Linked DNA regions of Homo sapiens: region 1 is linked to region 2. Evidence: promoter capture Hi-C in 16 types of primary human blood cells and fetal thymus (Javierre and others, 2016). All regions are on one chromosome and are shown on one strand. The core of a region is centred on a gene start or on the middle of the fragment in contact, and the rest is flanking DNA. Distances in the headings are between cores, read along the strand shown.

What was found. Contacts are between HindIII fragments. The CHiCAGO score rates a contact against its expected background, and 5 or more counts as called.
Region 1: a contact is called between a fragment that was not itself captured here and the fragment with the promoter of DCDC1 in region 2, in 4 of 17 cell types (activated CD4 T cells, naive CD8 T cells, erythroblasts and 1 more). The highest score is 7.1, in activated CD4 T cells.

What each region holds. Positions count from the first base shown.
Region 1 is chr11:32,171,171-32,176,548 of GRCh38, reverse strand. No RefSeq gene overlaps it. Among named protein-coding and RNA genes, the nearest start is that of SNORA88, 30 kb to the right of the region's middle. RefSeq lists enhancers at 1-605, 1-1,059. The HindIII fragment of the contact is 5,168 bases long and covers 1-4,822 here.
Region 2 is chr11:31,365,416-31,370,988 of GRCh38, reverse strand. DCDC1 (doublecortin domain containing 1) reads left to right here and starts at 1,250. Exons shown (of 39, transcript NM_001387274.1): 1 at 1,250-1,292. It overlaps DNAJC24 (DnaJ heat shock protein family (Hsp40) member C24), which reads right to left and starts at 1,129. Exons shown (of 5, transcript NM_181706.5): 1 at 1,077-1,129; 2 at 130-273. The coding sequence starts at 240. RefSeq lists an enhancer at 837-1,316. The HindIII fragment of the contact is 5,979 bases long and covers 1-1,434 here.

The sequences.
Region 1 (5,378 bases), core at 989-3,488, 800 kb before region 2:
ATTGTGTAGTCATCAAGTGAGAAAGACATCCTCCTCCTGGCTGCCTGGCTGGCTAATGGGCTTATCAAAATTCATGATGTAATAAGAAGGCCGACAAGTGCATGAGAGACTCTGGCTGTCACTCAAGGAAAAAACATGGACCACCTTTGCCCACTAGAGGGCACAAGAGAGCCATGAATGCCCATAGCTTGGCGGGTTGGTTTTGGGGATGCAAGTAGGAAAGGCCCTTTGTAGGCCAATTTCTGTCGCTTGTAAAAAAAAACCAATTTATTCTTTTTTTTCTTAATAAATGTGGAGCTCTCTTTATTTCGCTAACTCCCTTCTTTCTTTCCTTCCTTGTTTATATTTTATACCCCTCTCCTTGCTTCTTAGATTTATTTGTGATTCCGCTCTTGACAGTAGTATGCAGTAGAAAATAGCCCACATGGCTTTCAGGAAAAAACAAAACAAAACGTTGCCATCCTTCCTCTGGATAACTTTTCCATAAAATTTTCATTGTATGTGGGCGGGGGGAGCAGGAGCCTTGTGCTTCCCGAGAAAATCACTGACACGGTGCTGAGAAAAATATATAAAATAACACTTAACTCCTCTTTCCAGAAGGACATGTGAAAGCTATAATTGTACCTGCTGACTTTCCCTCTGGGCCTCTCTGGGGCTGGGGGTAGGGACTGTGGCTTTGCAACCTACCATACAGTGAGTGTTTAGATCGGGAAGAATTGCCTAATGAAACCGGCAGAGTGAAGGGGAAGGTAGTGGGGAATCCTGCAGGAATACCAGCTCTGAATTAAAACAGGGCCTAGGCCCCACGAGCTGATCAGGGTGTTGCAACTCATGTCAGATCCAAACCTGCCAGCAAATCCCATTCTTGACGATGAGGACATTAGTCAGATGGGGACAATTGTCTGTGGTCATTTTTGGCAATGTGACTGGTGGTAGAGATTGTTGGGAGATTCAAAAGGATTCTTACCAGTGGATCTATAGCTCATTTTTCATTTTTGTAGAATGGTTTTAAGAAATTTATACTTTTAGGTAGCTCTTAATTGTGTGTATGTGTGCATGCATGTTAGTGTGTGTAGGGGTGAGTCACGAAATGGACATAAGATACCACTTTTAAAGATAAGTAGCCATGAGTATCAGACAAGGAGAAAATGGGTGATATGACAAATGAAATAGGAGTCATTGCAAGGAAAACTTAAAGAATACCAGGTTGCAAAAAAAATTGTGTTTAAAGAGGTGGGAGTCAGGCCAGGCATGGTGGCTCATGTCCGTAATCCTAGCACTTTGGGATGCCAAGGTGGGCAGACTGCTTGAGCCCAGGAGTTCGAGTTCAGCCTGGGCAACATGGTGAAACCCTGTTTCTATAGAAAATACAAAAAATTAGCCGGGCATAGTGGTACATACCTGTAGTCCCAGCTACCCTGGGAGACTGAGGTAGGAGAATCACCTGAGCTGAGGCAGTCAGGCTGCTGTGAACCACCATTGTACCTCTGCACTCCAGCCTGGGTGACAGAATGAGACCCTGTCTCAAAAAAAAAAAAAAAAAAAAGAAAAGAAAAGAAAAAAGAAAAAGGGCTGGGCGCGGTGACTCACGCCTGTAATCCCAGCACTTTGGGAGGCCGAGGCAGGCAGATCACGAGGTCAGGAGATAGAGACCATCCTGGCTAACATGGTGAAACCCCGTCTCTACTAAAAATACAAAAAATTAGCTGGGCGTGGTGGCGGGCGCCTGTAGTCCCAGTTACTTGGGAGGCTGAGGCAGGAGAATGGTGTGAACCCGGAAGGCGGAGGTTGTAGTGAGCCGAGATCGTACCACTGCACTCCAGCCTGGGCGACAGATAGAGAGTCCGTCTCAAACAAAAAAAAAAAAAAGGAAAGAAAAAAGAAAAGGAGGTGGACAGACATTTTGAAGGGCATTGTTTGGCTGTCTTCTAATCTTCTTATTCATGTTTTCAGTAATAGCATGGGGCTTTATTTTCAAAATACTTTCGATTGCTAATAGTTAATAGTGAATATTCCTCAAGGGCAGTGGTTTTCCAGCAATGGGGTAGGGACCAGAACCTGGAGGGTGTGGCCAAGGGGCTGGGGGCTCTGCCCCTGCTTCTACCAGAACGCTCTGCCTTTTTGGGGCTCCACTTAAGATCTAATTTGGAAAAGAGGGTTCCACTGCTAAAAGAGTAAAAGAGAGAGATAGAGGCAAATTTAAAACCTCTGGTTTAAGGCTGGCCTTGCTGGCTTATGCCTGTAATCTCAACACTTTGGGAAATTGAAGCAGGAACATCTCTCAAGCCCAGGAGTTCAAGACCAGCCTGGGCAACATAGGGAGATCCTGTGTCTACTAAATAAATAAATAAATAAATAAATAAATAAATAAAAATTAGCTGGGTGTGGTGGCAATCTCTTGTAGTCCCAGCTACTCAGGAGGCTGAGGTGGGATGATTGCTTGAGCCCTGGAGGTTGAGGCTGCAGGGAGCTGTGATCACACCACTGCACCCAGCCTGGGCAATAGAGTAAGACCCTGTTTCAATAAATAATAAGTAAATAATAAAATTAAACCTCTGGTTGACTGCCTTCTGGTTTACAGAGTTTTCCCATGATCTCACTTGGACCTCACAGAGACTTCATCCTCCCCAATCTCTGTTTTCAGAAGAGGAAGCAAAGTTCATCAAGATGAAGAAATATATTCCTTGTTACACAGTGAGTGGCAGAGCTTGGACTTGAGCCTGAGCCTTCAGAATCCAAATTCAGGACTCCTCCCTTACAGCAGGATAGAGTAGAGTGAGAACCTAAGATCAGACTTGAAGAGGGACCTGATGTGTGATGGCACCCTGGGTGACACAAGGAAAAGTCTCCAGGGAGAGGGTGGTGGTGATTGATTAGCCGGGTGGAGGGAGAAACCTGAGATTTAATAGGCAGGACAGCAGGAGGCAGCAGTGCCCCAGAAAGGGAAGAAACCATCGGAGCCTCCAGCGTCCTGATTGCCGGCCACAGCCCTCCCAGCCAGTCCTAGCCTCTGCATCTGGGACCAGGGATCCTGCCACTGGGCATCTCCTTTCATTTTGGGATTGTCAGCCTCATTCCAGTTCTTCAGCAGGTAGGAAACTGAGTCACAGGGTACCTAAGCTGGCCAGGAATCAGCCCTGCAAATCTGAGGGCCCAGCCCACAGAGTCTCCCATGGCTTTCTGGGGAAACGATTGACGTTATGGGAGTGAAATGGGAACAACTGTGGCCCATCAGCCCCGTGTGTTTAGGGACAGCCCCTCTGGGCAGCCTCCTTTCCAGAATCTCCCACGGATCCTTTGACCACAAAGCCGTGCACACGGTCATTTCATTCACTATTAATGTGCGCCCTTCCCCTGGCGTGGCTGGCTCTTTCTTAAAGTTAACCAGTAACTGGTCTTTTTGTTATCCGATTTCTGTGAGAGGAGCCCTGCCAACAATTCTCACCAAGGGAGCACTTCTGATTTTTGTTTCCTTTCTCTTTCGGGTCTGCGGAAAACCTTTCATGTCCCTTTGTGTCCTAGAGAACGGCACGCCGCCACCCAGAATGTGCCAGCCTACTTGGCTTTCCTCAGCACTGCCGACGGCGCTCTAAACCATTCCCCTAGCATCACATTCCTGACTTCAAACAGGCCAGGGAGATTGAGAGCTCCTCGAATAAGTGGGACTTTCTGGAGATTCTCTTGGGAAGGAGTGACAGGCAGAGAGCAGGAATAATTACACTGAAAGTTTGTTATTTGCTTGCACAGTTTTCTTCCTTTGTGTGGAGTTTATTCCCGGAAGCCCAAAGAGGGGCTTGATAAACAGCAGAAAGGCTACAGAGCCAATTGGCTGGAAAAGAAATGACAATAAAAGTCGCACAGAATGAAGTCTTCTGTCAGCACCCATTTAAGTTAAACAGGTTTACATGTTGCAGCAGAGAATTAACTGTTTGATTTGCTAGAAACCAAGAGAATTTTCAGCACTTGGAGTGAGAAAAAAAAAAAATTTACTTTTAACTTAGGTCTTCAAACCTCCCTCCCCTCCAAAACCAGGACCTAATTGCAATGATTTTCCCATATGGGTCAAAGGGATCATTGGAAAGTCCAAAGGCAAGGCCCTCGGCCCTAAGGGTCTGTAGTTTGCAGCCTAGGAGTACACTCTGTGATAGAAACCTCTCCATGTCATCTCTCCTAATTTGTGCGTGTAATTGACAGCTTGTTAACAGTTCATTAGGAACACTGAAACCCATGTGGCAAAAACAAATCTATCTAGCAGAGAGGATGTAGTCCCTTCTTCTGAAAGCCTGTTTATTAAAATTTTTGCTAGAAACAAAATAGCGTGGCAGGAAATAACCCACTGCATCCTTTCAAAACAAGAACTTTCAGTCCCTCTCTGCTAAACTTCTTGTTTCCTGGGACACAGTGTTGTCTGGCTGGGCTTTGATCGAGCAGAACAGGAACCCGTGGGCCTGTGAGGGGACATACTCAAAGGTCCTCGGGGCAGCGAAGGGAAGACTCATCCATCCATGAACACAGATCAGTCACTCTTTTTTTTTTTTTTTTTTTTTTTTTTTTTTTTTGAGACAGCGTCTGGCTCTGTCGCCCAGGCTGGAGTGCAGTGGCGCGATCTCGGCTCACTGCAAGCTCCGCCTCCTGGGTTCACGCCATTCTCCTGCCTCAGCCTCTCAAGTAGCTGGGACTACAGGAGCCCGCCACCGCTCCCGGATCAGCCACTCTTTAAGGCTCGGAGGATTGGGACTTAACAATCCTGTGATCTTCCTGCCCTCCTACTCACTATTTCTCTAGGTCTCTGGAGGTCTTAAATATTGTCTCGGTGGAAGCTTCTGGTAAAACAACTTGCAATCTAATATAATATAATTTCTTATATTTCTCCCTGATTCCCCTGGGGAAAATTAATTGCCCCTTCCTCTCTGTGCCACAGCACTTCACACTTCCTTTCGCTATGTGTGGTCACGTGTGCTCTTGCTACTTAGATGTCTCTCTTGGCCAGAGCATCAGTGAGCTCGTGTATTTTCTCCATCTCTGAATCCTCCGCACTGGGCATTGTTGCTTTTAGGCCATCTTTTAGCATCCCATTCATTCTCAACCACTCCCTCACCACCAACCCCTCACCTCAGTCCCAACCATCTAGGGGATTTATAGAGGAACACATGGACGAGTCTTCAGGCTGAGCTGTGTTGAAATAGGCAGGCTTCTACAAAATGCATTCAATCTCATTTTCCTTTCATTGCATCAGATATTTAAAGAGCACCTACTGTGTTCTAGGACTTGGGTACATAATGGTGAGCAGAACCGACCCTGACCTTATGGATGTCCTGATTGTTAATTACAGTAATTGCTACAGATGATAAACTTGGGAAGAACATTCCATCTTTCAA
Region 2 (5,573 bases), core at 1-2,500:
CAATTAAATCAAATTAATACCTGGATTCCTGCCACTGGTATCCTATTTTCTGGAAACCTAAATTTGTGGTTTCATATAAAAATTGATTTTTTTCCCCTCATGATTTAAAATCTGAAAGAAAAGACTTACCATTAATATGAGTTTTTGATATTTTTGTTTTAGGTCTGATATATTTGCAGATGGGTCTGCTCCCAGGATGCTGTACCAATCCTTTTTTGGCATCTGCTCAACCGCCATCATCCATGGAACCAGAAGTGGGCCTTCTCAGATTAGCTGAATAGAAATATTAATGACAATTCATCACAGTTTGCCATGTATCTAAGAAAAAATTAAGTACTGCCCTTGTAAATTCTTTAGTATTTAGTCGAGTAAATCATGATTATAATGCAAACCTGAGGAAGCACAGATTTTCATTTAAAATGCCCCAAGAATTCCAGGTATAAGTGTACCGACAAGTATGGAAAACGTGTTAGGTATTTCACGATATATATTTATACTTTAATTAATGAACAGCATTAAAAAAAAGAATTTTATAATGAACCAGGTGGTGTATGAACCTCTAAGAAGGTATTTCTGCTAGTCTTATGATAAAACTGGCACACAAGTAAGCACCCACTAAACACGCTGGAGGAGCTTAATGAATATTTACAAAATGAACGAATAAAAAAAAAGCAAAACAGAACATCAAAGAATTAAAATAAATTTGGGGGCATTCCTTCTGAAAGTTTCTCGTTTGCTTTTCCTCCAGATTGTCTGGAGAGCATGATATGGGAAATAACGTCAGCACCAGCTGGTAGAGAACAAGAGTCCCCTGTTATTGGAGAGGCGCTGAGACCTCGCAAAGACAGAGTGAAACTCTCTACGCGAGGATGCCCCAGTCTTCCACGCTCCAGAAGAGAGACCCTACCAGGAGCCCCAGAAATCAGGCAACCTCTTCCCACAGCTATATACACTTAACGAAACAGCCGGGGCCTCCTCAAGCTCGGGACTTGGGAATCTTCTCCATTCACAGTCGGCTTTACCCACCCAGCCATTGGCGGGCACCCTCTCCGCGCTTTATACGACATCAGACCTACCTAACTTCACATAGGCGCTGCTACCCACTCCTCGCCTGCTGTCGGCCAGAACTCCGGACCGGCTTCTTCTTCCGCCGGAAGTCACTGTTCCGACGTGTTCGCGTTTCTGGCCGAGCTGATGTGGCCGTGGCACAGCTCAGAAGCGACGCTCCGCCCACCCCGACGCGGTCTCTATGGTAACCGGTCACCGCTTCTATGGAGTGGCGTTTACTACCAGTAAGTTCCCAAACTGTGAAGAAAGGCGCCTTTGGCTTCGCTCTAAGTCTCTCTTTTCCGGGCCCCGCGACTGTCGCTTCTCTCCTCCTCCTCAGCGAGCACCCCCTCGCCATCCCAGGCTTTCCCCGCCTTTTTCAAAGCTTCCTCCGTTTACCGTACCCTGAGCTACTCTCAATCTTTTCGGTTGGTGCTTGAACTCTGGGGTGAGAGAGGGGTGCGGGGGCAAGGATGTGAGAAGGATGAGGAGACCTGATGCCACTCTCGTCCCTACAGTTCCTTTACAATGTTCTAATTCGAAAATTAAAAGAACTAAAACCTATGCCAGGTAGGGCTAGATGTGCGGGGGATGGGGTCGGTTTAATTTTTTCTGCAGAAGATATTCGACGTAATTATTAATATTTCTTTTAGACCTTAGCAACCAACTTACAACATAAAAACGTTCCAAAATTCTTTCACATTTGCTATTTCACTTCGCTTTCATTTCAACCCAGTGAGACAAGTAAGGCAGGTGCCATTATTCCCACTTTATAGATGAGGAAAGAAATCAAGGATCAAGGCCAAACAGCTAGTTGGGTAGGGGCAGAACAAGGACTCAGCAAGTCTACACATTCCCAGGGCAGCTATGCTATCTTTCAAGCTTACAGAAAAAAGCAGAATGAACTGTTCTTCTTCGAAGCAGTTAGGGGGCACTGCATATGGGCACTGTTGGGGTTTGTTATTGTTGCTGGTGGTGGTGGTGGTGGTGGTGGTGGTGTTTTTCTCACCTTTCTTTCTTCTCCCTTTCTTGATTCCTGTGTTTCCTTTTATTACTTCTTTGTGCTGCTTACTTTACATTAACACCTCTTCCTAGCATTGTACCTGGAGATGAAAACTACATCTTATTTTTGGCCAGCATGACATAAATTTCACTTGGAGATGTTAAAATGGTTTTGTTGTTACTGCTTTGATTTTGCTTTCCTTCTTTTTTAAACTTCTACCAATCTGAGTTTGAGAAGCAGTCAAGATAAACTTAAGCAGAATAAATAAAATAATCTAATATGATCAGTTATTTAATGATGTTATGAACTATAAAGAATAACTGAATGAAACAAGCAAGTTTAAAAATCTAAAGATGAAAGCATAGATTAGGTTCTCCACAGGGTTTTGTCATGTTTAAAGGCAGATACAAAGAGCATCTGGTTTTAGTCCTGGCTGCATCATACTTTCTTGTGTGGCCTCATGAAAATACCTAAAGCAATGGAATTAAGTAGTGTGGTGAATGCTTTTCTAAACAGTACTGTCAGAATGATGCCACCTTGAACATCTCTAGCCCTCAAACTCCCTTCTGTCCACAGCTTGGTTCTTCCTTGTGTAGGTAGATATGCTCCGGTACTCCAGGTTTTTTGTTTTTTACAGCAAAAGCATTTTATTTTGATTTACTATTTATTAGGTTATTGTGTTACCTTATTTATTTATTGGGGTTTGGAAAGTAAGAAATAGTTTTTTTCCCCAGCAATACCAAATATTTTGTCATTTCATCTCTACATACTTTAGTTTGCATCCCTAAAATGTACCAACTTTTTCTTTTATCTCCATAATGTCATTATTGGACTGTCACATAATATCTAGACCTTACTTACATTTCCACGGTTAATTGAAAATGTCTTTTTCTGGTTGGTTTGCTTGACTCAGAATCAGACAAAATGTACACTTTCCATTTAGCTGTTCTGTCTCTTAAATATCTTTTAAATTATAGCAGTCCCATTTCTTCACTAGAACCTTGTTTTTTTCTTTACTTGCCATTGGCTTACTGAATGAGAACAGTTGTCTTACACTCTGCTTATACCAAAATAAACTTCTTAAAACAATTTTTACATAAATTTCTGATCATTAAGCTTCCTTCATTTTTCATTTTATAGAGCAGTACTTTCCAATAGAAATATAATGTAAGCCGTAAGTGCAAGCTACAAAATTAATTAATCTAAAAATTATTAAGGCGATACTTTACATTCTTTTCTCCTACTAAGTCTTCAAAAGCTGGTATGTATTGTGCCCGAACACACCTCAATTTGAACTAGCACATTTCAAATGCTCAGTAGCCACATGTGACTAGTGGCTACTGTATCCAGCAGGGCAGGTCTAGAGAATAAAGTCCTAACTCCTTAACCTAGCATTCAAGTTACCTCTTCAATATGATCCTTACTTTTCCAACCTCCCCTATTATCTCCATACATTAAACATTTAAACAATTGGATCTTTTCATGGTACTGAAATCAACCCAACAGTCCCATAGACAGGGTTTTGTTTGTTTGTTTAGTTTTGTTTATTGGGGTTTTTTAAATTAATAAACATAGAAATGGACACTTCTTTTCTGAAAGCTTGAAACTTGCATTTGTTTTATCTTTTTGTTTGCTTGTTTGAGACAGAGTCTTGCCCTGGTGTCCAGTCTGGAGTGCAGTGGCATGATCTCAGCTCACTGCAGCCTCTACCTCCCAGGCTCAAGTCATCTGCCCACCTCAGATTCCCAAGTAGTTGGGACCACAGGTGCATGCCACTATGCCTGGCTAATGTTTGTATTTTTTTTTGTAGAGATGGAGTTTCACCATGTTGGCCAGGCTGGTCTGGAACTCTTGAGCTCAAGCAATCTGCCTGCCTCAGCCTCCCAAAGTGCTGAGATTACAGGCATGCGCCACTGCGCCCAGCCACATTTTGTTGATCTTTATCTCAGTTCCTTCCTCAAGAAAGGATGCCCAGACCTCTCAACAAGTATCAAAGAGCTGAAACTCACCAGATTACTGCATCTAGACAGTGATATGCCAGACCCCTCATTCTTCGTTATTGTTTCCTTACCCTTCCTTAGTTCCTGTTTTCTCATACGTAGTTAACATTTCTTCCCTGTTATATAAACCCCTAATTTTAGTCAGTGAGGAAGGTGAATTTGACACTGATGTCCCATCTCCTTGGCTGCAGCATCTGATTAAAGCCTTCTTCTTTGACAATAATCATTGTCTCAGTGATTGACTTTTTGGGTGGTAAGCAGCAAGACATAGATGGAACTCCTGGTGTTTTGGTAACAGCATTTCATCAATAATTGTGTTCAAATGCTTCTCCTTACTTATAACACCCTAATTCTTTTCTTCCTCCTATCAGAGTAATCCCTGCTTTAAGGCCTATCTCTTCCATCAAGCCTTTTATGATGGCCTGGTCCTTAGAACTTACTGCCGCCCCTCAACTTTCATAGCAAGTCCTTTGTATATCACAGTATATTGTTTTCCTTAGAATATATTCTGATTCCCCAGTTGGGTTGCAAGCTTTCTGAGAGCAAGAACACCTCTCCAGAGAAACTAAGAACCAGCTATCTTGCCTCATTCTCTGGAGTTCTAATGATACATAGCTCTAATAGTTTTGTTTCTCAGTATCTTATATTTAAAAGGCAATTTATCCATTTTATGTGAAACTTACATAGTGGAAATATAAACTATGTTAGTATCATGGTTAAAAGCATGAACTCTAGAGTCAGAACATATGTGTTTAGTCCAGGCTTTTCCTCTTACGGCTATGTGAACTTAATTCATCTCTTTGCTTTGGTTTCTTCCTCTGTAATATGGGAGTAATAATAGTATTTCCCTCATAGATTTGTTGTGGGAATTAAATGAGATAGTTGTGCCTGAAAGTAATAAGTATTCAGTAAAGGTTAGCTATTGTTGTTATTATTAATTAATAATATTTGTTGCACATTTGATATATTAGAATGTTGGACATTCATAACAGTATTTTAGGAATTTCCAAAGAGAGCAAATGACAGCAAGAAACAATTGAATTGGAAAAATAAAATCAAACCCAAATATTTGTTGAACTGTACATTTGGTTGGACTTCAGAATAAATTAAAAGGATAGGCAAAACTTTAGTTTGCGTCATCAGCATCTAACATAACCAAGGTAGGCGTATATTAAATATTTGATTCCCAGATGATTGATCAAGTGCTATAGATGTAGCTAGATACATCAGGAGTTTAAGATCCTTTGTCATGATGATAGGAAAAAATGACATTGTTATTAAATCTATCACTTTGGTACACGCCTGCCCGTAAACTAACGTCTACCAGACATTCACAAATTCTTAATTTGATGTCATACTAGTCAATTGTGCTTCTCATTGATGGATAATAATGGAAATCTATATCTATATTATATAGATGTATACATATAGTGTACTTCTGCTAATTATTTCCTATTCAGGATTATATTTACTTGGCTCTTTTGGTAGTTCCATCACCAACTATTCCTTCATTTCCTTGATTT